Linked DNA regions of Homo sapiens: regions 1, 2, 3, 5 and 6 are each linked to region 4. Evidence: promoter capture Hi-C in 16 types of primary human blood cells and fetal thymus (Javierre and others, 2016). All regions are on one chromosome and are shown on one strand. The core of a region is centred on a gene start or on the middle of the fragment in contact, and the rest is flanking DNA. Distances in the headings are between cores, read along the strand shown.

Region 1 (4,952 bases), core at 1,387-3,886, 640 kb after region 4:
TATTCCCAATAGTATTTAGAATGTGGCCTTATATGCTGTGGGCACCTTCCCTATTCCTGCTAGGCTGAGTCATTATTTTCTACTTCTATTAATACCAGCAAGTATTACAAAAACCAAAACTTGAGACTGGCTTTTGGTTTAATGGGAAGCTTATGAAAATCATCACCTTTTATCAAGAGCATGCTTCAAAATGAAAGTCAGCTATTGCCTTTTCGGTTCCTATGAATTACCTGTCTAGATTAAAGTGTCTGCCTTAATAGTACTTCATTGTCTTGTTCTGCTAACTTGTCTGCCTGGTTTCTGGTCTTCTGCCTTCCCCTAATGTTCAATTGGTTTATCTATAAACCTGAATTCTGCCTGCCTGCCTGGTTTCAGATTCACTTCTTCACCTGGAGTCACAATTCATATCTGACTCAAAAAGTCCAATTATCTGCCTCCAGACAGATTATCTAGTATACCCAAATGCTAACTTATCTCAGTCTCAATTCTGTTCTGCTCCCTGCTGCTTAAGCCCAAATGAATACTCTGAAACTTGTACCCTAAGATCCATAAAAAAATGAAGTCATTTTAGCATTATGTATATATACACAAATTACATTTATATTAAGACTAGAAACAAGTATTCAAGAACACTGAGCTGGAGTCAACAATCATTTTCTGTCTAACACAGTTTGAAAACCAACTGTACTCTCTACAACCTGGTTTAAATAACCCAATTTTTGTTAGCACTCATCTCAGTTGTTTTAGCTAAATCTCAAATAGATACATTAGTATACGCTAGAGAAATGTACAGATTTCTGCATGTGCCATGTATACCCTATATATTTACTATCATCTCTTGAAATTATTATATGTGTCAATTAACAAAAGCTAAGGGAAAATATCAACTGAAAAACATTTTAATCTGATTATAAGATTTTATTTTTGGTTTACTTTACACTTTAATATGTAATAACTCTCTGGGAAAAACTTGGGTTCCAGTAAGATTTAATGACTTTAAGTGTTTACATATTTCTACTTTTCAGCACAAATTTGTGATAACATATAAACTATACTTTGAATGTTATGTGCAGTGTTCAGCATTTTACACAGTAAATTCACTTACTGTTAAAAACATTAAAAATATTTTAATTTTTCACTTAAGTACAATATTCATTAAGCAACTCTTAAATAGTTAATATGAAAGCACATGGATCAGTACACTACTAAATTGTGAGAAATTAAATGTTATAACCCCAAGTATTGCTTTAGGAATAACATTTTAAATGTATGTTCCCCTTTAACATAAAATAAATGAATAGGCAACTCAGACCTAATGAAATAATCGTATTTATAATTCAGCATAATGTATTATAAGGGTTTTTTATTTGACTACAGCTTATATAATAGTATAGAGCATATTTGCTTAATCTCATTTAGTGAGACCCAGAAACTATTTACTATGCAAATCACAATTTTTTAAAGCAAAATTTAAAGATTACGACAAAGAGGAAGAAGTAGCCAATTCATCCCAATAAATTTAATAAGAAGTTCAGGCATCTTATAATCAGAAAACTCTATTGAGGTAAAATTCATATAACATAAAAGACACCATTTTAGTCATCTTAAAGTGCACATTCAGTGGCATTGAGAACATTCACAATGTTGTGCAACCATCCACCAATTTCTAGTTCCAGAACATTTTCCCTGCCGCAAAAGAAAGCCCATGCCCATTCATCAGTCACTCCTCATTTGCCCCAAACCCCATGCCCTAGCAATCAGTAACCTTTCTGCCCCTGGGAATCTGCCTATTCTGGATATTTCCTACAAATGGAATCATACAGTATGTGGCCTTTTATGACTGGCTTCTTTCAGTTAGTATGAAGTTTTCAAGCTTCATTCTTATTGTAGCATGAATTAGTACTTCATTCCTTTGTATGCCTGAATGACATTCTATTGAATACATATACTGTATTTTGCTTAGCCACCCAACTGTTGATAGACATTGTGGTTGTTTCCGCTTTTTGGATATGGTGAATAGTGCTATGAACATTTGTTTACAAGATTTTGTTTGAACATCTGTTTTCATTTCATATGAGTGTTTACCAAGGAGTGGAATTGCTGGATCATATGGTAACTGTAAGTAGGACTTTTTGAGGAATTGCCAAACTGTTTTCCACAGAAACTGCACAATTTTATATTCCCACTAGCAACGTATGAAGTTTACAATTTCTCCACATCTGCACCAACACTTGTTATTTCCCATTTTTTAAAATAGCCATCCTAGCAGTGGAAAACAACATCTCATTGTGGTCTTGATTTACATTTCTGTAGTGACTGATGATGTTGAGCATCTTTTCATGTGCCTACTGGCCCATTGTATATCTTCTTGGAAGAAATGTCTATTTATGACTTTACTCATTTTAAAAACTGGGTTGTCATTTTGTTGTTGAGTAGTTAGGGTTTTAACATATTCTGTATACTAGTTCCTTACCTGATACAGGATTTGCAAATATTATCTCTGATTGTGTGGGTTGTCTTTTACTTTCTTGATAGTGTCCTTTCATGAACAAAAGTTTTTGATTTTGATGAAGACCAATCTGTTTTTTTCTTTTGTTGCTTGTGTTTTTGTTGTCATATCTAAGTAGCCAAAGCCAAACACTAGGTCATGAAATTTACTCCTACACTTTCCTCTAAGTTTTATAGTTTAGCTCTTACCTTTAGGTCTTTGATTAACTTTAAGTTAATTTTGTATACGGTATGAAATAAGAGTCAAACATCATTCTTTTGGGTGGGCGCAGTGGCTCATGCTTATAATCTCAGACCTTTAGGAGGCCAAGGTGGGTGGATCACTTGAGTCCAGGAGTTCAAGACCAGCCTGGGCAACATGGTGAAACCCCGTCTCTACCAAAAAAAAAAAACAAAAAAACAAAAAAAAATCATTCTTTTTATCAGAAACATTTTTATTGAGATCATGTTCATGTAATATAAAATTCACCAGTTTTAACTTTTAAAATAGTTTTTAGCATATTCACAATGTTGTGCAACTACAGCACTAATTCTGGAACATTCCATCACACCAAAAAGAAGTCCCGCTCCTAATCACTGGCAACTACTAATCTCTAATTTCGTTTCTGTCTCTGTGGATTTGCCTATTCTGGACATTTCATATAAATGGAATCATACAATATATGGCCATTGTGTCTGGCTTCTTTTATTTAGCAGAATGTTTTCAAGGTCATCCATGTTGTAGTATGTATAGCTATTTCATTTCCTTTTTATCAGTGAATAACACAGCATTACATGGATTTTTATTCATGTAATTCATCAATTATATTCATCAATTAATGAACACTTTGGTTGTTTCCACTTTTGGCTATTTTGAATAATGCTGTTATGAGAATTTACAGACAAGCTTTTAGCTAAAGATATATTTTCCTTTTGGCGGAGGTATATACCTAAGAGTAGAATTGCTGGGTCATATGGTAAGTCTACATGTAATTTTTGGGAAACTGTCAAACTATTGTTCAAACTGGCTCCATCAGTTTAAGTTACCACCAGTAATACATGAGGATTAAATTTCTCAAGAGTTAAATATCATTCTTTCATATGTGGCTATCTGGTTGCCCCAGCATATTTATTGAAAAGACTATTCTTTCTCTATTGAATGATTTTGACATACTTGGTCATCTTTGTCAAATGGCCATATATGTATGAGTCTATTTCTACACTCTCAATTTATTACATTTATATAGACATATGTCTATTCTCATATTCGTACCACATTGTGTTGATTTCTGTAGCTTTGTAGTCAATTTGAAATGTGAAAGTATGGGTCCTCCAACTTGGTTTTTTTTCAAGATTGTTTAGGCTATTTAGAATCCCTTATTATTCTATATAAATTTGAGGATCAACCTTTCCATAAATGCAAAAAAAAAGGGCTATTGAAATTTTGATAGGGATTGCAATGAATTATGTAGATCACTTTGGGAAGTATTGCTATAGTAACAACATTGTCTTCCTCAAAAGTATTCCACTGAAATGAGAGAAAACATAAGAAAAGAATAAATCCATAACCATGTTACAAAACAGAGAAGAATGGATGAGAATGGATGAGAAAATATGAGGATGAGAATGGATGAGAAATGTGAGGATTTTCTGGAAGCCAAAAGCTAATGGGATCAGAAAAAGAGAGCAATCAGAGCAGAAAAACCACAACCAAAGTAGGTGTGGCTGAGAGCTACTGAGAAGGTAGCATTCTTAAAGATTTTCAAGAAAAATTCTGGGTTAACAATCCAAGCAAAAGCCGACAGTAGACAAGCCAGCATTTGTCAAACCTGAATATGAACACAATGCACTTATTTCTTATTAAATATGGTTCTTACTAAAATACAAATTCTGAGGTGAAACCTGAGATCCTGCAGTCCTAAAAAGCTCCTCCCAGGTGATAGGAATGCTACTGGTTCACATATAACACTTTAAGTCTGAAGGACTAATCCAGTGCACATTAAAAATCACCTGGGGAGCTTTTTAAACAATGCCTCTGTGCAGGTCACAGGCCTTACCATTTAAATCAGAATATAGCAGGATGGGAACCAGGCATAGGTATTTTTTAAAGACCCAGGGTGATTCCAAAGTGCAGAACAATTTGAGAACCACTAGACAAATCAACAGTAAATTTAAAGACTACCTGATATAAGCTGACTAAGATACACTCTTCTCATCTCCCTTCTTGTGAACACAAGGCAGATACTTAGGCGATTTTCACTGTGATAAAGCTATGATAGTTATTTAAACAAAGTGGAGACCCACCAGATTAGTAGCGGCAGGAAGAAAGGAGAAGGCATGGCTCCTAATCTATATATAAGAACTGGAGAGAGAAGCAAAGCAGAAACCAAGAAAGTTGGCTCCAAATCATGACAGAGATTAGGAAAGAGGCACACACTCAAAAATGAAAGACCTTAAAATGCTTC
Region 2 (4,664 bases), core at 2,105-4,604, 680 kb after region 4:
TTGTCAAAACAAGATGGAAAATATTTCTCAGCCATACTTAATGATGTGCAAACAGTTTCTGCTGATCTGAAATTGAAAAAAAATGATCCCCAAAAACAACAGCATCTAGTAAAAGTAGTAGATGTGCCTCCTGGTGATTATTACAGTTCAAAGAATCTCATTGATGGAGTTAAAACAGTAACAATCTCATTGTCAAGCAATGAGAGAGATCCCAAAGGTAGGGATCACCCCTCAAGAGTCTCCACTGATATTGGAGACACTGAGACTTGGGAAAGAACACAGAATACTAATTAAGCCTTAAAAATAGCTATTTAGGCAAAATCTGAGTCTTGGGGAACCAAGAATAAGGACTTAGCCTCAGAGTAGAGAAAATGCAGGAGAAAAGTGTGTCTGGGACAGAAAAGCAGGAATGGCCTGCCATGAGCATGGCTCATAGGACTTCAACACTGATGATTCAGCCACAGAGAAGAAATCTCAAGATGAAGACTCCGTTTAAGCTTGTTCATTCCAAGGGCGATAACTTACAATGAATTTCTTTCTGTAATGCAACCAAGCAGCCAAAGTCTTGCCTCTCTGTCTAGAAAATTTATTCAAGAAGAGAAAGTAAAAGACTGCAGTCATAACTGAGTCTCAGATGTAAAGGCATTAGTGGAGAGTAAAGAACAAGTCTCTCTGGAGCCCATATCTGGCTTCAGTTCCAAGCATTGCACATTTAGTGACAGGGCCCTTTATGTTCACCCCAGGATCACACTTCTCAGAGCCCCTTCACCAATCATGCTACAACTGCTGGCAGAAAGGACCTTTCAGCTCCATGGGGCTGGAGTTGTTTCCTGCTTATCTTGGACTAGGGGTGTTCCCAGGAAAGCCTCAGTGTTAGAATGCAATGGCCCAGAAACCACAGCTTATCCGTTCCCAGAAGGGAAGACTTTCACAAGTTCCTTCGTTGGAAAGAAATTCGACTGATATAAGAAGTTTGAAACCCCCAATCAGACTTACAATCTCCAAATTCTCTCTAATGAAGCTCTTGGGAGCTGTACAAAAAGGCTGGACTAAGTGCAATACCACCATAAAGAAGAGTAGAGTCAGTGGTATCACAGTGCTCTTTAAAGGATACTTCATCCTATTTTGTAGCTGGAGTTTCATGCATCTGAAGCTGCAGTACTGGTGTAAGTAGTGTTGACCTGGACGTCACTTAAGAAATCTTTGGGCTCTGTTCTGTTCCATTGGTCTATATCTCTGTTGTGGTACCAGTATCATGCTGTTTTGGTTACTGCAGACTTGTAGTATAGTTTGAAGTCAGGTAGCGTGATGCCTCCAGCTTTGTTCTTTTGGCTTAGGATTGTCTTGGCAATGCGGGCTCTTTTTTGGTTCCATATGAACTTTAAAGTAGTTTTTTCCAATTCTGTGAAGAAAGTCAATGGTAGCTTGATGGGGACAGCACAGAATCTATAAATTACCTTGGGCAGTATGGCCATTTTCACGATATTGATTCTTCCTATCCATGAGCATGGAATGTTCTTCCATTTGTTTGTGTCCTCTTTTATTTCATTGAGCAGTGGTTTGTAGTTCTCCTTGAAGAGGTCCTTCGCATCCCTTGTACGTTGGATTCCTAGGTATTTTATTCCCTTTGAAGCAATTGTGAATGGGAGTTCACTCATGATTTGGCTCTCTGTTTTTCTGTTACTGGTGTATAAGAATGCTTGTGATTTTTGCACATCAATTTTGTATCCTAAGATTTGCTGAAGTTGCTCCTCAGCTTAAGGAGATTTGGGGCTAAGACGATGGGGTTTTCTAAATATACAATCATGTCATCTGCAAACGGACAATCTGACTTCCTCTTTTCCTAATTGAATACACTTTATTTCTTTCTCCTGCCTGATTTCCCTGGCCAGAAATTCCAACACTATGTTAAATACAAGTGGTGAGAGAGGGCATCCCAGTCTTGTGCCAGTTTTCAAAGGGAATGCTTCCAATTTTGCCCATTCAGTATGATATTGGCTGTGGGTTTGTCATAAATAGCTCTTATTATTTTGAGATACGTTCCATCAATACCTAGTTTATTGAGAGTTTTTAGCATGAAGGGTTGTTGGATTTTGTCAAAGGCCTTTTCTGCATCTATTGAAATAATCATGTGGTTTTTTTCTTTGGTTCTGTTTATCTGCTGGATTACATTTATTGATTTGCATATGTTGAACAAGCCTTGCATCACAGGGATGAAGCCCACTTGATCATGGTGGATAAGCTTTTTGATGTGCTGCTGGATTCGGTTTTCCAGTATTTTATTAAGGATTTTTGCATCAGTGCTCATCAAGGATATTGGTCTAAAATTCTCTTTTTTTGTTGTGTCTCTGCCAGGCTTTGGTATCAGGATGATGTTGGTCTCACAAAATGAGTTAGGGATGATTCCCTCTGTTTGTATTGATTGGAATAGTTTCAGAAGGAATGGTACCAGCTCCTCCTTGTACCTCTGGTAGAATTTGGGTGTAAATCCATCTGGTCCTGGACTTTTTTTGGTTGGTAGGCTATTAATTATTGCCTCAATTTCAGAGCCTGTTATTGGTCTATTCAGGGATTCAACTTCTTCCTGGTTTAGTCTTGGGAGGGTGTATGTGTCCAGGAATTTATTCGTTTCTTCTAGATTTTAATACCACACATCTACAACCATCTGATCTTTGACAAACATGACAAAAACAAGAAATGGGGAAAGGATTCCCTATTTAATAAATGGTGTTGGGAAAACTGGCTAGCCATATGTAGAAAGCTGAAACTGGATCCCTTCCTTACTCCTTATACAAAAATTAATTCAAGATGGATTAAAGACTTAAATGTTAGACCTAAAACCATAAAAACCCTAGAAGAAAACCTAGGCAATACCATTCAGGACATAGGCATGGGCAAAGACTTCATGTCTAAAACACCAAAAGCAATGGCAACAAAAGCCAATATTGACAAATGGGATCTAATTAAACTAAAGAGCTTCTGCACAGCAAAAGAAACTATCATGAGAGTGAACAGGCAACCTACAGAATGGGAGAAAATTTTTGCAATCTACCCATCTGACAAAGGGCTAATATCCACAATCTACAAAGAACTCAAACAAACTTACAAGAAAAAAACAAACAACCCCATCAAAAAGTGGGTGAAGGATATAAACAGACACTTCTCAAAAGAAGACATTTATGCAGCCAACAGACACATGAAAAAATGCTCATCATCACTGGCCATCAGAGAAATGAAAATCAAAACCACAGTGAGATACCATCTCACATCAGTTAGAATGGCAATCATTAAAAAGTCAGGAAACAACAGGTGCTGGAGAGGATGTAGAGAAATAGGAACACTTTTACACTGTTGGTGGGACTGTAAACTAGTTCAACCATTGTGGAAATCAGTGTGGCGATTCCTCAAGGATCTAAAACTAGAAATACCATTTGACCCAGCCATCCCATTACTGGGTATATACCCAAAGGATTATAAATCATGCTGCTATAAAGACACATGCACATGTATGTTTATCGTGACACTATTCACAATAGCAAGGACTTGGAACCAACCCAAATGTCCAACAATGATAGACTGGATTAAGAAAATGTGGCACATATACACCATGGAATACTATGCAGCCATAAAAAATGATGAGGTCATGTCCTTTGTAGGGACATGGATGAAGCTGGAAACCATCATTCTCAGCAACCTATCACAAGGAGAGAAAACCAAACACCGCACATTCTCACTCATAGGTGGGAACTGAACAATGAGAACACTTGGACACAGGAAGGGGCACTTCAAACACCGGGGCCTGCCGTGGGGTGGGGGGAGGGGGAGGGATAACATTAGGAGATATACCTAAAGTAAATGACGAGTTAATGGGTGCAGCACACCAGCATGGCATATGTGTACATATGTAACAAACCTGCACATTGTGCACATGTACCCTAGAACTTAAAGTATAAGTGAAAAAAAAAGAAAGAAAAAGAAATCTTTGGAACTACAAGGGGCATACAATGGAGCTGACTTCAATACATAGTTAATAATTTAAAATGGCATTTAGAGCAAGAAGAGGGAGTGAAAAGAATAAAATTATTGAAATCTGTAACAATTATATAGAAAGTAAATTTTTTATTAATGTGAACAAAAAAATGAAAAGGTGACTGCTATACCAGATGCACAGATATCAATGGAAGGACGTAGGAAACATGAAAAAGTAGGGATTTTTGACACCACACAACAATTGCATGGCAGCAGATCCAAATAAAAAAGAATGCCTCAAAATGCCAGATAAATAAACCAAAATATTGATTTTAACAAAGCTCAATGAGGTGCAAGAGAAATATGAAAAACAGTACAAAAAAGTTCAGAATATGGATGAGAAATTTACCAAGGAAATAGATATCTTTTAAAAAAATGCAGATATTGTGGATGTAAAAAATTCATTGAAGAAAATACAAAATACATTTGAAAGCTTCAATAATAGACTAGATCAAGCAGAAGAAAAAAATCTCAGAACTTGAAAACAAATCTTTTTCTTTCCTTCAATTTTTATTTTACGTTCCAGGGTACCAATGCAGGATGTGCAGTCTGTTACATAGGTAAATGTGTGCCATGGTGGTTTGCTGCACAGATCAACCTATAACCTAGGTATTAAGCCCAGCATCCATTAGCTA
Region 3 (4,702 bases), core at 188-2,687, 660 kb after region 4:
TCGTTTAGTCTACTGCAGCCTCAAAATATTTCCTCAGGATTTACAGACATTAATTTGAGGCCTCTGATTCCTACCTGCTTTACTCTGCCTGATATATATGAGAAAGACAGGAAACTCAGCATATACTAGATACCTGTCGGGAGCTAGCTCATACGAAAGCAAGGAATGAGTGCCAGAGATCTTTTTTTCGTTCTTTCTCAGCTTGAATCATCTACTACTGTGCCATGTCTCCAAATATAAATTGACTTACTGAAAGAAGAGGAGAGAGAGAGAGAGCATTTGTTTGGGGGAGGGGAGGTTTCACGAATTCAGGAACGAGACGTAACTAATAAGTCCCACGTTAACAGAAAATTAACATATCAATAGAAGTTTATCAACAAATACCACCAGTTATTGAGAACTAGGTTATGTAATCTTAATTCTGTTAAATAATATAAAGTAAAATAAGCAAGCTGGCATCTTCCATTTTGCACAACAAATTTCATGCCAATTTTGCAAAATTTTTATTCCGTAGAAAAGAAGAAAATTTTGAACACTGGTATATTTTATTAACAAGCAATGAATTTAAAAGCTAAACACTGGATACTCATAGGCATAAAGATGGCAACGATAGATACTGGGGACTACTAGAGTAGGGAGCGGGGGAGGGAGACAGCCAAAAAACTATTGGGTACTATGCTCACTACCCAAGGGATGAGATGATTTGTACCCCAACCTTAGCATAATACAATATACTTATGTAACAAACAGGCACATGTAACCCCTGACTCTAAAATAAATTAAAATTATTGTTTAAAAATTTTAAAAAATTGGAGTTTTTCTAATAAAAAACAGAATATAGGAAATATATTAGAAAGAGTAGAAATCGGCAAATATAAATGGGAAGAAGTTAAAGAAAAGAAATAATGATAAAACTATGGCCAAAAAAAGAGTCAAAAAAAATTCACATGGAAATAATAAATAAAACATCATTCAAGTTTACCCAGGAATAACATTATGACAACTATCCATTAGAAGACTAAAATAAAGATCCACCATGTGGAAAAGGATGGAAAGATCAAAATTTTTTCTCTTGTAAATCTGTGATTATACTTTTTTAAAATCTTACATGCAAAAAGAAGTAAATTAAAGAAACTTTCTGGTAACCTTTTCTTTTTTTTTTTTTTTTTTTTTTTTTGAGATGGAGTCTCCCTCTCTGTTGCCCAGGATGGAGCGCAATGGCGCGATTTCCACTCACTGCAGCCTCCGCCTCCCCAGGTTCAAGTGATACTCCTGCCTCAGCATCCTGAGTAGCTGGGATTACAGGTGCCCGCTACCATGCCCAGCTAATTTTTGTATTTTTAGTAGAGACGGGGTTTCACTATGTTGGTCAGGTTGGTCTCAAACTCCTGACCTCAGGTGACCCACCTGCCTCAGCCTCCCAAAGTGCTGGGATTACAGGCATGAGCCTCCATGCCTGGCTGGTAACTTTTATGTTTTTAAAAAAATAAAATTTCTTTATTGTAGAAACTTTGGAAAATTAAAAATAAGACCCACTCATATTCTAACTAGAGAAAATCAGTTAATATTTTCATAAAAACATTTTCAGTGTTTTATCAATACAATAACGTGCAATTTTTAAATGGAATCTTAATGAGTTAATGATCTGATTTATTCCCTTAACACATAAAATGCCATCAAAAACTCTTTATTTATTTATTTTTATTTTTATTTATTTATTTATTTTGAGACAGAGTCTCACTCTGTCTCCCAGGCTGGAGTGCAGTGGCACGATATCGGTTCACTGCAACCTCCTCCTCCAGGTTCAAGTGATTCTCCTACCTCAGCCTCCTGAGTAGCTGGGACTACAGGGACGCACCACCACGCCTGGCTAATTTTTGTATTTTTAGTAGAGACGGGGTTTCACCAGGCCAGGCTGGTGTTGAACTCCTGACCGCCGGTGATCCACCCGCCTCGGCCTCCCAAAGTGCTGGGATTACAGGCATGAGCCACCGCACCCGGCCCAAACAACTCTAAAATATCACTTTAAACAACTACTGGCATTCCATTTTATAGATGTATGCTAATTAATCAGTCTTCTATTGTTGAACATTTTGGTTGTCTACAGTTTCTAGCATTATAAACAAATATTGAGTTAACATCATCATAACTAAATCTCACATATACACAACTATTTTCTCAGGATTCATAACTAAAAATTAAATTACAATGTTAAAAACTATAACTGAGTTTTAAGGGATTTTGTGGGTAATTTTCCCAATGAAAGGATTTACCAATTGTCTGGTTTTTCCATATCTTGCCAAAAATGAACATAACCATTGTTTAAAACTTTTGTCAGTTTGATAGACAAAATGTTCTCTAGTTATTTTCATTTCCATTATTTGTTTTCCAGAGAGAAAATAAATATTATATGTTTACTAGCCATTGGGTGTCTTTGCAAATTGCCTGTTGATGTCTCTGGCCACCTGTAAAAATGGAGGGAAGTGTAGCTTAGTGGTTAAGAGTACAGACTCTGGGGTCAGACAACCCAGGTTTGAATCTTTCACTCATGACTAACTGTAAGACCCCTTTAAGCCTTAACTTCTTTATCTATCTATAAAATAAAGATAATAAGAGTACCTAGCTCTCCAGATGAAAAGATGATCTGGTATGTGCAATATGCTCTTATATTTTAAGAGCTCTTTATAAGGATTTTCACCCTTTGTTCACCATATGTGTTGCTCCCATTGTTCCGAGTTGTCAGTTGCCTTTCAATCTTGTTTATAGTGGATTTTGGCAGACAGTTTTAAATTTTTTGTAGTAAAATCTATCACTCTTTTCTTCAGGATATTTGCCTTTGGTATCATGCTTAGAAAGGCAACAGATTTAGAGGAGTAAAGATAGTACAACTTTTTCAGGAAAGCAAAATATATCTGGCATGTGTATTGTGAATAACATAAAAATCCAACATTCCTCTCCCTATGCACCTCTACTAAGCAGGCACCATTTTTAAATAACATCAGTCTGAAAAAGAAATACACAGAAATCACAATGTCAAGTAACTATACCCACAACTTCCAACGATCATGGCCTATTGAGTTCCCTAGTTGGCCTAGATCTTCATCTTTGCCTTAAATAAGAGGGATATAAATATACCTATAGACATACCATAGCAAATTAAATTAAGTTCCTCTTTTTTTAACCAATTTCCCAGATGATTGTGAAATATTCATAATGAAATTAATCATTCCATAAATCAAAGAAGTAGCCAGAATCAGTCACATCTGAGATCATCTGGTTTGTGAGTACAAATTTATTTACCCTACCCTCAGCAAATATAACAAAAAGACTTTCAAGGTTTAAGGAAAATAAATCACTAATAAATTAGCAAGTACTGATCATTTGAACCAAGATGATGTTTTCTCTTCAGCAAAGGACAGTGCACACAAGCTGAAATACCAAACTATGACCTGATTCTTATCCATGTCACACACAATAGCATTATTTATCAAGGCCTAGTTACAGAGACAGTATTTAATCAACTAATGTCTCTGAATTAAAACTATAAGCAGCTAAACATAATTGAAATATAATAATTTTTCAAATTTATATTAATACTAATTGAATTTTAATACCTAAAATATCTTAATAGTTAAAGAATTTTTCTGATAAGTTGAAGTTCAATCCAATATTATATTTTTATTCCTAATTCATATAGCAGTTCAAACCAAAAAGTTACCGCTGGCCATATAAAGGACATGTTTTTACTTATTACAAGAAATTGAATTCAAGCTTGCCACTTTGGAAACACTAACAGTAGCAATAGATTATGCTACATTTTAAGAAAACACACAAAGAATTATTCTTGAAATCTCGGTATTCCTATTGTGCAGATATTTGGAACAATTGTTTTCTTCTTTCATAGCTATAAAATTGTGGTTAAAAATCAGAATCATAGAAAAGGCTACTGGTTTTCTCAGGGTCACAAAAAAGTAAGTAATAGCATGTCAGTGATAAATTTTTCTTAGTCTGCTACTCTATCCACCACAGTATGTAATTTCTGCCTTAAACAACTTAAAATATGTAGAAAGTCATAAGAATTGCTAATACTACTTTTCAGCACTGTCATATTTTGTCCGCTGAGCCAAACATACCAGATGTCTTTAAATAAAAGATTTAGACAGCATAAAAATAAAGCGTTATTGTATATGGGCTTTTTAAAAATACACCAATACATTAGGGATATCGTAAGGTTTGAATAAATGCTATTCCAGAAGAGAGAAAGTTTACAGATACTAATACTGAAGGCAAGGAAAGATGATGACCATAGATGCAAATGAGAAGAAGAAAACAGTGAAAATTAACATAACACTCTGCATGATAAAAATTATTTTATTTATTTTAACATAATGAGCCAGAACCATATATTCCCATTGACATGGTTTGGATCTCATGTTGAAATGTAATCTCCAGTGTTGGAATGGGGCCTAGTGGGAGATGTTTGGATCGTGGGGGCGTATCCCTCATGAATTGTTTGGTGCCATCACCTTGGCCCTGAGAGAGTCCACATGAGATCTGTTTGTTGAAAAGCGTATGGCACCTCCCACTCTTTCTCTCTCTTGTCCTGCTCTGGTCATGTGACATACCTGCTCCCACTTCACCTTCTGCCATGAGTAAAAGCTCCCTGAGGCCCCCCTAGAAGCCAAGCAGATACGGATGCCAT
Region 4 (4,964 bases), core at 1,692-4,191:
CCACCATAAAATAAAAAGATAACATCCTTATGCTCTCAGCATGGTCTTACCTTCAGACTCTAGAAATACATAGCTGGATGTGTTTTCTGGGAAAACATATAAATTAAAATCATTTTTGGCAGGTAAACATTGGCTACTAATAAATAGTTCTAGTAAGCTCTCCTCCTTATAACCTAAGGATTTATGTTATAGCTCACTTATCCAGTGGGCTTACCAGAATGCAGTCATATTCCAAAGTCAGCCTTACAAGGTCCCTCTCTGGAAAGAACTCAGTTGATGAGCCTCTACTCTCCTAATTGCTGCCCTTACATTTTTACATGACAAATCATCATCCTTTCTGGTTTTGCAGCATTTTAATAGACCCAGAGTTGCTTTCTGAGAAAAGTCTCAGTACTAACAAAGGTTAGAACTAACAAAGGTTGAACTAAGGATGACATGCATGTGGTATGTGCCCTTTCCAGTCCTCTTCCCAGGTCCATGAAGAAATCACCAACCAGTGAGAACACTCTTTCTACAGAACACAAACTCAGCTTCAGGCTATTTCTGAACAAGAGCTTTAGGAAGCAAAAGGAAACAAGTATGTAAGAACATTAAGAACATACCTGCCATACTTATACTAGAATGTAAGTTCCTTAAGGGCACAGACTGTGTCTGATTCATTTTTGTTTTCTCAACAAAAATGTTGATGGGGTGTTAACTAATTGTATAAAGTAGGAATAAGAGTCAGTTTCGTAAATGTTTTTTAAAAGTTGACAAAAGTATTTTCATTTTGATTCCAAAATTAAAAAAAGCTAATAAAGATATTACAATATTTTAAAAATCCAAATTTTATGAGAGTTCTTGTCTGGATGAAAATTAGAATACATTCACATTATCTCAAACGAATGAACATGTGTGACTTTATAAAAACAATACCTCCCTAAACCATGAATTCAGATGGAAAAACTCGACATCTTTATTTCTGCAGTCAGTCTCATTTTTCTTAAAACAGTTCAAACTAGTAAGAATTTTCCAGAAGTTACAGCTTGACTCACCCAACCTTCCAAGGAAAAAACAAAAAAACTTAAACAGACATTGTTTCACTCTCATCATTTCCCACCCTTACTAATAGTGGCAACTTAAGTGTATCTTAAAGCACTCCAACCTCTTCATAGAGCCTATTAAATGAGTATCTTGTGGACACCCACACACAGTCATAGAATCCTAAGTGGTGCTCAGACCAGTCACATGTCAGTGCATTCTTAATTGCTAGAGCTAACATGCTCTCAGCATGGTCTTTTAATTACACCCTAATAATTTATTATAGTTTCTCTCTACAATGTAAAGTCTTGGAAATCACCCACTAAAAAGTGCCTGTGTACTCTGGGGCTTTGGCAGGCTAGGGCAGAACTTCTGAGAACACGGTGTGTTCCAGAGAAGACAATCAATCTGAGAGGACTTACACAGAAACAGTTCATTCAGGACCTGGCTGCTGGCTTTTATCTGAGATCTGAGGATTTCACAATCACTTGGAGATACCTACAAGTGTATAGCACACCTTGGATATTACTCTTAATGATTACTTCATTTTGTAAAGAGGTGACTCCACCAACAGCAAAGGAGAGGGCCCAGCCCCAGCCACCAGGAATACAGTTCTCTGCCAGTAAGTGCCTAATGACTCATTTTCCTCAACAGAATTTTCATAAGGCTGGAATTCAGGGAGGGATGTCTGGAGAATGTCTGAAAGGAAGTTCACAAGCCACTGTCCTGCTCTTTGCTGGAGAAAGTGTCCCGTGGTAGCCAGAGAAGTTGACTAAGGCAAACAGCAACATGTTTTGGTAACATTTCCCCATTACCTTTCATGTACAATCCAAGAAAGGTTGCCATGAAGTGTTTTAATCAGGTTGGGAACATTATAAACTTCGAAAAAAGAAAACCATTAGTGGAAAAATTAAGGACACAGTAGATTTAACAACTGTGTTTACGTGGAACCACAAAATCTATCCAAGTGAATTGCATTAAAACAGACAGAACACTCCAAGAAACTGTTGTATGTGTATTTTTTTTAATTCAGTCAACCATTTTACTAATCTGTCAAGATGACCAATTTCTTTGGAATTATGTAGATTTAGCCAAAATGAAATTATACATAAGATTTACTTTTCTTTTCAGATGCTTTTTTATTTATTTTTAAATCTTTATAATTACTAGATGTTCTCCTCTCTCAGAAGATATTCTGAGAGGAAAGCAAAAATACCACTCTTGTAAAGCCATTTCCATTCTTCCAAAGGTCTGCTGGTAAATTATTCTTACTGATCTTTCCATCTTTCTAGCCTGTGCATACACACCTAACCCATACTAAATTTCACCAGATGGCATTTTATTTCTTTAAAGTAAAGCAGCCGTGGGTTTAGACAGTTGAATTTTTAAACTTCTGTATTTACTGAAAGTGCATATGGTGCTATATGGACAAAGAAATTGTGCTGAAAGAAAAACATTTCTGTCTGCAATACCTCATAATCTTCCAGAGGAAAAAAAAGTGCAGTTATATGGCACATTTCTCACAAAATCTTATGTGGCTTCAATGTTCTTCCTCTGTTAAAAAGTAGATATATGTTTAATGTACAGACCTGCAAGTTTCATTATTTTAAATTCATCTTTTAGTGGCAAATAAAAATGTTATGCAAAACCCAATGACTTGCTAAAGTGATCCTTCAGTGAATTCTAGAAGAAAATGCAACATAAACCTGAACTGGTAAAAAAGAAAAAATAAAAACCTCTGTATGTCAACGTAAGCAGATGTTGGTGTAGTTACAAGGATGAGAAGGCTATAAAACTTCCCTTGAGTCACTCACAGTTCATTTGAGGGCCAAGAACGCCCCCAAAATCTGTTTCTAATTTTACAGAAATCTTTTGAAACTTGGCACGGTATTCAAAAGTCCGTGGAAAGAAAAAAACCTTGTCCTGGCTTCAGCTTCCAACTACAAAGACAGACTTGGTCCTTTTCAACGGTTTTCACAGATCCAGTGACCCACGCTCTGAAGACAGAATTAGCTAACTTTCAAAAACATCTGGAAAAATGAAGGTTAGTATAAGCAACCTCAAGTATTCTTAAAAAATTAGGGTTGGCTGGATTGAACGTGATCAGAGTTTTCTATTGTTTAGAAGGTGAAGATTTGTACATAAGTATTTACTTCCTCAATGGGTTGGGATTGGAAAATTGTTCTAAATATACTGTAGAAACATTTGTCCTTGCAGAGCTGGAAGAATTCCAGCAATTATAGCCGGATCAGTGGAAAACAATCAAAAGCTTTGTGGGGCGAGAGAAAAAGGATTTAGGTGTAAACAAAATCTTGCCATTTCTACTATTTAGCAGGAACTGTGTGTATGCCTAATTCTCTTTATTTTATGTAGACTTGGGTAAAAATCGTATTTGGAGTTGCCACCTCTGCTGTGCTTGCCTTATTGGTGATGTGCATTGTCTTACGCCCTTCAAGAGGTAAGAACTTTCTCTGATTTGCTCTATCTGCCTAGAATAGCTTGGAAAATGTACTAATGCAAGATCACAAGTGGTTGAACATTTCCTAAGTGCTTATGTTCCAAAGTAAGTCTGTTATTTCTAAGAAGACATATAAGCTCACAGATATGTTGTTGTGCAAGACCAGAAATACTGAGGAATTTAAGGCATGGGTAGGAAGAGATTTACAGTGTTATTTCAGCAATAGAAAAACCTAAGAACTATGCTGCATCACCCCCACAACCCCCAAAAATATATGCTAAATACAAGCTTTGACAGGCCTTTAGAAACAACATTTTTAACTAACATTGCTTTTCATTATTAGGTTTGTCTCGTGGAAAGTAAAAATGAGTAAGAATGGAAAAGTTAAAACAGAATCTATGGACTTTTTTTATTACTAAATAGTCTTTCCAAAAATTTAGGGAGGAAGTTGAGAATACAGATCTCAGGAATAGCTGTATAGAAAAAGCAAAGTTGTTGTTTTAGATGTAGTAGCACTGCACATCAAATTAGAAAACCAAACATTGTTAAGCAAGCATTTTGATCAGTCATAAATTGGATCCTTTTACAAAAAAGGCTTAGATTGACACTGATCTCACTTTGCTAAAAATTGGAAGGTACTATGGGCTGATATCAGAGCTAGTTTAAATATAAAGTAGGACTATGTTGATAGATAATCTAGTGATATTAGGGAAATAGCTTTTTATGAAAATATTTATGAAGAGAAACTCAAGCTTCTGAAATGGAAAAAAAATCCAGTAATAACAGGTCTTATGTCTTTGTGTCTAGGAAAGGGGAAAAATTTGTACTAATAAATACTAAAAGTTTATGATAACAAATGTGGGAAATATCTTGGTTAAAAGTTAACTGATAGTAAATGAAGATCAATAAAATAACTTCAGCTAAAGAATGTATGAGTCCTGAATGACTGGACTGTTGCTATTAAAAAGAACATAGAAAAATGTTTTCGAAAATTAAAAATAATCATGAGATTTTCACAGAATTACAAAATAGAATAGGTTAACCCATAAGATGAAGTCAGCTGATATCTTCAGTGTTAATTTCAGTCTTTGTTTCTGCTCTCTGCCAGCACAAGATTCTTCTTAGGCTGTTGAGAGGTATGTAGTGTGTGTACATATCTTTCATAAATTTTCATGTTAAAATTGTTTTCAGACTCATCTCTGAACTCAGTGGTCTTGGGGCCACATTTCCCTCATACCAGCAATTGTCAGGTAGTGGATTAGGTCATATAGATCCTTTGAATGTTAATTCATTAAAAATTAGCTCCTGATTTTTAAAGAAACTCAACCTTGAAATTGATACTCTGCACCCTCAGAAATAAATGTTCTTGGAACAAAAGTTTGTTAATTTTATAGGGCACTTGCCTCCATGTCCATAGGGAAGGATGAATTTCACTATGGAATTCAAGCTATAATTTCTAATAAGAAATGCATTATATTTACATATT
Region 5 (4,850 bases), core at 366-2,865, 940 kb after region 4:
ACAGGCACGTGCCACCATGCCCGGCTGATTTTTTTATACTTTTAGTAGAGACGGGTTTTCACTATGTTAGCCAGGCTAGTCTTGGCCAGGCTGGATCATCTCATGATCTGCCCACCTCAGCCTCCCAAAGTGCTGGGATTACAGGTGTGAGCCACCGCACCCGGCCTAAATTAAAATGGCAATGTATTATTTACCAAGCACTTTAGGCTGAAAAAAAAACAAAAAACCAAAAACTCCCAAAGTCAACAGGTGAAGCATCAATAAAAGATCATCACTTGAAAACTTTCTTCCCTTGGCAAGATTTAGGGACAAATTCAAGACAACATTTAGCCTTTTTCACTAAATAGCACTTCACTAAACACACCTTAACTGTAGTTAATTCAGAACCACTATATATCTTAACCTCTAAACTTCAAATGAGTCAGCTGGTAGGTAGCCTTACGTGACAGGAAGGCCACCATTATATTAATCATCTCCACTAAAACTGTGTTCATGTTTTTGTTATTTCTACAGTATCAGTGCATGTCTTGCTGCTTTTCTCAAACACATTAAGTCAGAAGCACTAAAAAAACACTTGTGACCAGTGGAACAAAATCACTTTCACACTATAACTCTATTTTATGCTCATTTTTAAACCCTTTCCCCTGCCTTTCCATAATATTTTATCAACTTATATTACCATTTATTTTCTCGAGAATTTTTCCTTCAGTCACTAGGTTTATAGACTCAAAAGTTTACATTCTTTTTCTTTTGACAGACACAGAGCTACATCCCCAGGAAAATTAAGTTGCAAGATGTAACATACGGTAGCAGATTTCTACTTTACTTAAAACGAGAAATGTAATCAATTTACCAACAATTACTCAATTAGTATGATATTGAAAGTAAGTTAACAGCCATAGTAGCACACTTTGTTTTTAAGATATTCAAGGTCCAAAAGCAGTGTATCTGCAGGACTTTTGTTTACTTTTTGGAGGGAGCTGAAAACCTAACACTAACAGAAAAAGGGTTAAGGCTTACAGGAAGGACAAGAGATAAAACAAACGTATTCAATGGGAAAGTTAATTCTACTCTCTCTCCCTTGTTTTCCCGGTCTGCTTTGAAAAACTTCAAAGCAGACCGGTTAACAACTATGGATAGAGCACAGACAAACAGGCCATAAACAAGGATTCTCTCTATATAGATGGAAGAGGTTCCCATGATGTGAATTCGGCCAAACAGAAAAGAATGGAGAAAGGAGGCGACATCCAGACCTGACCCTGCCAGAGAGCCCTGAGAGCAGGCGAAGAGAATGAAGGAGGCCGGGCTCCTCCCTCGCGGCCCAGGCCTCCTGTGGCAACTCAGCTGGGCAACGTGACTCAGGAAAGCACGGGGCTGGCGGCGGCCTAGCACGGCTGCCTCCCCAGACCTCCCAGGCCTGCCTTCTGGGTCTTACCTGAAGACGGGCGGGAGCCGGATGCCGCGATATGGACCCTTGTCTTGCCTCTGTGGTGACGCGAAGACAGAGGCAACAGCAGCAGCGGCGCACACCCGACGCGGCTCTGTCTGCAAACCGGCGATGAATCAGCCCGATTCCATTCAAAAGAGTTGCCCGGGCCTCCGCCGCGAAGCACTTCCGGGTTCACTAGTTTGCTTCGGCTTCCGTTCCCCGACGGCCAATTGGAGACGACGGAGAGTCAAGCGGATGTCCAGGAGGAGCTCTTGGGACAGACGGCGCGGGCGGCCCGGCGTCTCCTGTCTCTGGCAGGACTGTGAGGCGGCACTTAGCGCCCTGGTCGCTCGCGCCCCGCCGACGCCTCCTTTTTCTCTCCCTACCTCTGCGCTCTGCGGCCGCCGCTGAGATCTGGGACGGCGGCACATCCAGCCCGGGAGACGACTGGCTAGGAAATAGAACTGTTAGTATTTTGAAGCCCAGATCCCCTTTCGTTTTGGTGTTCACTACTATTATTGCCCTCCTCAAAAACTAAAAGGTTCATTTGAGCTAGATTTAACTTGGTTATCTGAGAAGAAAATTTTTTTAAAAGAGGGGGGATGGTGTGATTAGAGGGGACCGGTAAGACGCCCTTTTCTGTAAGTCCGCTTTATCCACCTCTTGTCATTATTGCTTTGCAAGGATTGGATTTCAGGGAAAACTAAGGTTTCCCAAATGTTCAAACCACCTATTTTAAGCCGAGTTTAGTTTACAGGGTTTAAAGAGTCATTTATTCACATTTCTCCATGTAATTATCGGCAATCACATTTTACTCATGATCTACTTTGTGCTAGGCTTTCAAAAAGCAAAGTTGCAGAAGATATACTTGACAAGTTGATATTACACTCTAGGTCTAGGTACAGTCTCTGTTTAAGGCAGCTTGTTTGCCACGTTCCTGTCACTTTCTCAAATATGTTCCAAATAACAAGCATCTTTAAAGCATTCCTAAATCGAGAATGGTGATGAATCTACTGGACAGAGGGTGAGGAAAGATTACAGCGCCTGGATCCAAACTGTGATTTGAGTAGCACAATTGCTTTAAGATATTAATACCTTTAAAAACACAAAGATTATTTTACTCATAGGTAATATTTGGATCCACATCTTTATGCTTCCCCCCCAAACCTATGCCTCTCTATTCATTTTTTATGGGAGGAGGGGGTGAGTAGCCCCGTCCTCCAAATAATTTTCCTAATCAGAAACTTAAGAGTATGAACACTTGCCTCTTTTTCATCTCTCCCCACTGTAGAAACCATGAAATGTGTAATCTCCATAACAGCTTTTCCAATCCACCACTTCCCCTTCTAAATACTCCCCACTTTGGCCTTAACTCAGACCTTCCTCACTTCTTTTTTATTTTATTTTATTTTATATGTATTTATTTATTAATGCATTTTTGAGTTAGGGTCTTGCTTTGTCACGCAGGCTGGAGTGCAGTGGCGCCATCTGGGCTCACTGCAACATCCCGTCCCCGGGCTCAGGCAACCCTCCCACTTCAGCCTCCTAGGTAGCTAGGGCTACAGGCGCTTGCCACCATGCCCAGTTAATTTTTATTTATGTTTTTATTTATTTTATTTTTTTAGTAGAGACAGGATTTCACCATGTTCCCCAGGCTACTTTTTTAGAATGCTCTTTGATCTTTCCGCCTTCGGTCTGATTCCTTTTAATCCATTCTCCACCTCACTGGTAAAAATTTTTGTGCTATATGTAGTCATGCTCCTTCTTTATTTAAAATTCCACTAGTGGCTCCCCATAACATTCATTATAAAGGTCAAAAAAAAAAAAAACCCTTAAACTTTGTTTGGAGCACCTTTTGCTCCAGCCATACTAAAGTATTTAGCTGGGGAATAAGATGTCCATAGGGCTTTGAAAAACGCTAACATATTCCTGAGACTGTAGAAGGTGCTTAGGGTGTGCATATGTCTAGGGTTATGTGAACACTCAAGATAGGCCTGAGAAGGCCCTGAGCTCTAACCTCTGGGTGACCTTGAGGCACTACAGAAGCAAGAAGTGAAGGCTAAGGCAGAATTATTTGGTTGGTTGGTGCAAAAAATTGCGGTTTTGTCATTTCAACGAAATTACTTTGGTACCAACCTAATGTAAAGTGCTTGGCTGATTGTTGAAGGCTTGTCCCAACGTAAGTACTAAACCCCTCAGGAAAGACTGGGAGATTTTTTGGTTGAAGGTGTTTAAGAAAACCTGTCTCTCTAATCATTAGTTGACCACTAAGCTAACTGAGCAGAAACCTGAGTGGTCACACACAATAAACAATGCAGACTTTAAAGAATTCATTCATAAGCTAGGTGCGGTGGCACACGTGTAGTCCCAGCTACTCGGTAAACTAAGGCCAGAGGATCCCTTGAGTCACCAACTCAGACCCTATCTCTAAAAAAAAAAAAAAAGAATGAGTTCAGAAAAGTCACTAAATCAACAACTGCTACAACAAACAGAAATAACAGTGAAGCTTGGGGAGCGGGTAGAATCTGATTTCCAGTGTTGCACATTATATTATTTAAAATGTTCAGTTTTCAAAATAGTTAAGATACATGCAAAGAAACAAGAATGTATGGCTCATACACAGGATAAAAATTAATCAATAGAAACTCACCCGAGGAAGCCTACATGCTGGACTTACTAGATAAAAAGGCTTTAAATCAGATATTTTCAATATGTTACAAAGCTAAAGGAAACCATGTCTAAAGAACTAGAGGAAAGTATGAGATGTTTCATCAAATAGATGATAAAGACAAATCATTTTTTAAAACCCAAATAATTCTGGAGTTAAAAAGTATAATATGCCATGACGGAGACAAATTTTAAATTTTTAAAAAAAAATAAAATAACAAAAAGGTATAATAAAGTGAAAAGTTTACTAGAGGGGCTCAACCCCAGATTTGAGCAGGGAGAAAAAAAAAATCAGCAAACTTCAATATAGGTCAGTTGAGATGATCTAGTCTGGGCAACAGATTGAAAAGAGAAAGAAGAAACATCAACAGGCCTCAAAGTCCTGTGGGACACAATCAAGCACACCAACGTGCGCGTAATGGGAGTTTCAGAAGGAGAGGAGAAAAAGAAAAGGGCAGGCATAATACTTGAATAAAAGAATGGCCAAAAACTTCCTAAATTTAATGAGAAATATTTATCGACACATCCAAGAAGCTTAACAAATGCCAAGTGACATAAACAAATCCACACCTCAACACATTGTAATTAACCGATTAAAAGTCAAGGGCAAAGAGAGACTCTTGAAAGTGGCCACTTTCAAGAAGAAAAGCCACAAAGAGAGAAGCCACTCATCACATAATCCTCCATAAGATTTACAGTTGATGCCATGAAAGCCAAAAGGCAGGGGATGACATACTCAACATGCTGAAAGAAA
Region 6 (4,871 bases), core at 2,283-4,782, 620 kb after region 4:
ATGAGGATTACAGATGTTTGTACCTATCATGAGCCTGAGACAATATCTATTATTACTTTACAAACTGCCTAATTTCCATTTTAATTTGGAACTCAGCCGTTGATGCTATGCTAGTAATAGAGACTATATAATAGTGGAAAGAATGATAAATGAATAATCAAGAGATTTGGACTCTAGGCTGAGTTCTGCCATTAACTAGCATCATAAGTAGCATGCCCTTAAATATATCTCTTTATGTCTTTGATGTCCAGTTCCATCATCCGTAAATTAAGGAGCCAGTCTAAAATCTAGACTCCAGTTGATCTCTACAATCCTGTGGTCAAAATATATATGAATCTATCTATTAAAAATAATGGGGTGTCAACAATGAATAACCTTCCAAAACAATCTATGTCAGAAAATAGAAAGGAGGAACACTCCCTAACTCAGTATGTGAGGCCATCACCCTAATACCAAAACCAAACAAAGATATTATAAGAAAAGAAGACTACAAACCAATATCCCTCATAAGCATGAATGCAAAAACTCTCTACAAAATATTACTGAATCAATCCGACAACGTATAAAAAACTGACAACACCAAATGCTGGTAAGTGTGTGGAGCAAGAGGAACTCTCATTCATTGCTCATGAGAATAGCATGTAGTACAGCCACTACTAAAGACAGCTTGGCAGTTTTTAAAAATACTAAATACTCTTATACAATCCAGTAATAACATCCTTAGTATTTACCCAAAGAAATTGAAAACATGTCCACACAAAGATCTGCACATGGATGTTTATACCAGACTTATTCATAAATGCCAAACTTGGAGGAAACCCAGATATTTTTCAGTGGGTATATGGATAAATAAACTGTAGTACATCAAGACAATGAAATATAATTCAGTGATAAACAGAAATGAGATATCAAGTCATGAAAATACATTTAAATGCCTATTACTAAATGAAAGAAGCCAATCTGAAAAGGCTATGTACTGTGATTCCAACTATATAATACTCTAAAAAATGCAAAACTATGAAGAAAGTAAAAAAGTCAGTGGTTACCAGGGGTTAGTGGAAAGGGAGGGATGAATAGGCAGAGCACAGAGGATCTTTAGGGCAGTGAAATGACTCTGTATAATACTATAATGGTGGATACATGTTATTATAAATTTGTTCAAAACTATAGGATGTCCAACACCAAGTCCTAATGCAAACTGTGGACTTTGGGTGATAATGTTTCATCAACTGTAACAAATGTACCACTCTGGTGAGAGATCTTGTTAATGGGGGAGCTATGTATGTGTAAGGGGCAGGGGATATATGGGAAATCTCTGTACCTTCTGCTTAATATTGCTGCGAACCTATATCGCTCTCAAAAATAAGACCCATTAAAATATATATACATATAATTCCATAAAAGATGCAACACACACAAATTATTCCCTTTTTCTAAAAAAAAAAAAAAGTAGTACACCCCAAAGAGTATCTGAGACAACTGTTTGTGGTGCGAGAATATATTAAAACTTCAATCTAAATTTATTTTACCTAAAAATAAAACATAAAACTTAACTAATATTTACTATATAGATTGACAATGGTGTCCTCACAGGAAGTCAAATGATCATTGTCATGTGTCCTATGTGATATGGGAAAGGAAGAGTTGAAGTCTCTCTCACAGAAGGGCTGAGAGTGGCATCCACATTTCTCCATTTACTTGCGGGCCATCGTAATACACTGCAATCTATTCATGCCCAGTTTAGACTTCTGAAGCAACCATCATTCAAGGTTAGAAAGAAATGATATATTGGAAGTATCATTGTATTCTGACCATGCTCTCTGACTGTATTTTGAGTTCCAGACCTTGGCCCAGATATTTTCTAACTCTTCATCATAAACTAGCCCACTTCCTAATCTGATCTCAATATTTTTATCATAAACATAATATTAATAAATAAGTAAACTCAATACTTATAGCCTTCAGATTCTACCACTCATTCCCAACCTTAGCATTTTATACATATATTTTATTTCCATAGTCACTCACCATGCTAGAGTAACAATTCAAATCATGAAAGTAGAAACGGGGATTAATTTCTTATACTGCATTTTGCTTCCTACTGACTACAAGGTGTAGTGAGTATGTTTTCTTTAAACTCAGATTATAATTTAAATTTCAATGCAAATTGAATAGAAAAAACAATATTACTTAGCCATTCCATGTGCTCTTTTTGTTACTTTGACATTTTAGTCCCATTTTTCTTTCCCTGATTTAATTACATTAAAGACTTTTTATAACTTTTTTCCACAAATAAAACAATTCAATAAACTGGGCCACTTGGAAATATGGAATTAGCATTTTCTAAAAGTACTAAATCCAATCATCTATCCTATATCATCAAATTATCTTTTAAAAGTGAACTTTACTGTAGTTTTATACCTTAGGGAAATGTTATGAGTAAGCTCAACTTAAGTCCTTTTTCAGACATCAGAATCTTAGAAGGGATCCAAAGTAGACTCACTGTAGATCACCCAAGATTAAACGTCATGAGATATAAATATAAGTTATATATTCTTCTGGAAGCTTCTTCCATGGCCTGATAATTTTTAAATTGTTAGGTTACTCCTAAAAGCAAATTCAACATTGAATATCAAAGGAAAATGTGAAATCATAATGCAATCCTAAATATCAGGCTTCATACTTTTAAAAGGCTAATTCCATTCTTACTAAAATGATATCACCATTATTACTGTTACATATATTCTCCATATATATCCATATCAAAAAGGTTATAACAATTATTAAATATTTTGAAGAGAAAGCAGCAGTCTCTTAAAAAGTTAAATCGAGTCCTATTTCTAGTCTAGCTGGAGTGTGAGGTTTCACATATATAGGGTGTTTGCCTGCCTTATTTATTGCTGCATCTCCAGCACCAAGAATGTGTTTGGCCAACAGTAGGCACTTAAGAGAACACATCTTTCTGACACACTTTTTCTGTAACTTCAGACATAGCAGTCAGTTGTTACCAAAACCAGACTATACACTTAGCCAACAAGAGTGAACGCCCTAACCCTTGGAGTGATTAGAGTCTACAAAATGCAATGATGGCTTGTCCAGCAAAAGGAAATTATCACTGAAGCTTCCTAAGAAGGACTGGGAAAAAAAGAGAAACATATCTAGGCCTCCTCTGCCCGTATCCTTCAAATGTACTTTATATATACTATACTAAATGGAGGTAAACCCTGGGAGGCTTAATGAGAATCTGTTCCTCCATTTCACTTGAGTCAGGATTAATACATTCACTCATTTGACATACTTATCTATTCTTATTTTCCTTTCTCTTTCACTTCCCTATCTTTCTACCTCTGACTGCTTCTGTCCCATATCTAATCTTGGCTTTTAATGCCTGTCCAATTGGCTCTCCAAGCATACTGCAAAGTTTTCATAATTATAACTAAAAAACGCCACCTCCCACCTCCACTATGAAGAGTCTTTTCCAGTTCTCCATTTTCCATTTTTCCTTCTTGGTAGAAAGTACTGACAAGCCACTTCTCATAAAAACCTGAAACCTATACATCCTCTCAATATCTACTTTGAGATGAATATAGCAATAATATATTCATTTTACAGCAACATTGACAATGATAATAGCAAGTTTTATTGAACACTTACTAAATGTCAGGAACTTCATATAAGTTATTTAACTGATTCCAAAACTCAAGAGATATATAATAACATTCCCTTTTCATTTTTCAGTTGAAGAAACTGTAACTTATAACTTTCCCAATATCATATAACAAATAAATAGCAGTGTTTGGCCTTGACTGAGTTCTAAATATTATGCTATATTGCCTCTCACAAAATTATTTGCAAAGTCGTCTGATTAATTTTCTAAAACAGAGCCCAGAGCTCTCTTCCAAGCGTAAAAACTTCAGCCCAGGAACTGATCATGTTAAGCTTGGTTAAGAATGTAATGTAAAAAATATTGAATTTTTAAAACAATTTCTGAACTAGTTTTAGATGACCTAAATTCTAGTCCTGGTTTCATCACTGGGTGATCTTAGACATGTTATTCAGACTCCCTGTGCCTCAATTTCTCACCTTGAAAATGAAAATAATAAAATCTGCTTTACATAACATGTTTGTTTTGAAAATTAAACAAAAAAGGTTTTCATAAAAGCAACTGGGGGAGTTGCTATACAAGTATAAAACTGGACCAGTAATTCAGCATCCTCTCTAGCCCCTCAGGCTTGTTTTTCTTGTGATGATCTGCTAATATGATTCCCTCTTACCATTAAACTGTCACTATTTTGTACTGACCATTAACCCCATGACATGCAAACTTTTGACTCTGGCCTTCAAAAATTTCCATCAGATGTATTGTAGACCTTCTTTTCAGGAAAGACTTGTATTTTCTCTGCTCTTTTAAGCTATAAATTGGTTGCCCATCTAGCCCAGTAATGTCATCCTCTTTTAAATTCCTCTAGTTAATCCTCATTTGGTCCTAAACCCTTTAACTGTTCCCCACAAGTGACAATCCATAAGCCACATCAAACTGGCTTTAGCCTGCTTTTCTAGGACAGGTTCCAACACCCCACCCCACCCCCACTGCCAGCCAAAAAAAGGGTTGGGGGTTTCCCTAAACCTTCCCTAATCCCCATACCACGATTCCTGTGTATAGTTCCCGTCTCTCATCCAGGGAAGAAGAGTTCCCTGGTATTCTTAACAGTATTTATTCTGAGTACTAACAGAATCCTAATTTATGTATTTGTTCAAGTTTGGGAAGATAGACAAATCTTTTACACGTATTTTTTTATAACTCCACTTTGATGCCACAAAGAAATATCTCTATTTTTAGGCAGACAGGGTAATTGACAAACTTCTTTCTC

What was found. The method cuts DNA at HindIII sites, captures the fragments that hold promoters and counts their contacts. A CHiCAGO score of 5 or more calls a contact.
Region 1: a contact is called between a fragment that was not itself captured here and the fragment with the promoter of FAP in region 4, in 4 of 17 cell types (activated CD4 T cells, fetal thymus, total CD4 T cells and 1 more). The highest score is 6.2, in activated CD4 T cells.
Region 2: a contact is called between a fragment that was not itself captured here and the fragment with the promoter of FAP in region 4, in 5 of 17 cell types (total CD4 T cells, fetal thymus, naive CD8 T cells and 2 more). The highest score is 7.2, in total CD4 T cells.
Region 3: a fragment that was not itself captured here is called in contact with the fragment with the promoter of FAP in region 4 in 7 of 17 cell types (naive CD8 T cells, naive CD4 T cells, total CD4 T cells and 4 more); the score reaches 8.9 in naive CD8 T cells.
Region 5: a contact is called between the fragment with the promoter of PSMD14 here and the fragment with the promoter of FAP in region 4, in 2 of 17 cell types (M2 macrophages and M0 macrophages). The highest score is 7.7, in M2 macrophages.
Region 6: a contact is called between a fragment that was not itself captured here and the fragment with the promoter of FAP in region 4, in 2 of 17 cell types (non-activated CD4 T cells and activated CD4 T cells). The highest score is 6.3, in non-activated CD4 T cells.

Annotation. Positions count from the first base shown.
Region 1 is chr2:161,600,413-161,605,364 of GRCh38, reverse strand. No RefSeq gene overlaps it. Among named protein-coding and RNA genes, the nearest start is that of SLC4A10, 22 kb to the left of the region's middle. The HindIII fragment of the contact is 1,521 bases long and covers 1,876-3,396 here.
Region 2 is chr2:161,564,991-161,569,654 of GRCh38, reverse strand. It overlaps the pseudogene MTNAP1P1. Among named protein-coding and RNA genes, the nearest start is that of SLC4A10, 57 kb to the left of the region's middle. The HindIII fragment of the contact is 2,220 bases long and covers 2,245-4,464 here.
Region 3 is chr2:161,582,003-161,586,704 of GRCh38, reverse strand. No RefSeq gene overlaps it. Among named protein-coding and RNA genes, the nearest start is that of SLC4A10, 40 kb to the left of the region's middle. The HindIII fragment of the contact is 4,673 bases long and covers 1-3,773 here.
Region 4 is chr2:162,241,422-162,246,385 of GRCh38, reverse strand. It overlaps FAP (fibroblast activation protein alpha), which reads left to right and starts at 2,941. Exons shown (of 26, transcript NM_004460.5): 1 at 2,941-3,064; 2 at 3,394-3,478. The coding sequence starts at 3,059. It overlaps LOC105373724 (a long non-coding RNA gene), which reads right to left and starts at 269. Exons shown (of 4, transcript XR_923544.3): 1 at 215-269. The HindIII fragment of the contact is 18,804 bases long and covers 1-3,291 here.
Region 5 is chr2:161,305,190-161,310,039 of GRCh38, reverse strand. PSMD14 (proteasome 26S subunit, non-ATPase 14) reads right to left here and starts at 1,615. Exons shown (of 12, transcript NM_005805.6): 1 at 1,436-1,615. RefSeq lists an enhancer at 1,288-1,747. The HindIII fragment of the contact is 7,205 bases long and covers 1-3,937 here.
Region 6 is chr2:161,625,904-161,630,774 of GRCh38, reverse strand. All of the region lies in intron 1 of SLC4A10 (solute carrier family 4 member 10), which reads right to left. Among named protein-coding and RNA genes, the nearest start is that of SLC4A10, 3.9 kb to the right of the region's middle. The HindIII fragment of the contact is 818 bases long and covers 3,124-3,941 here.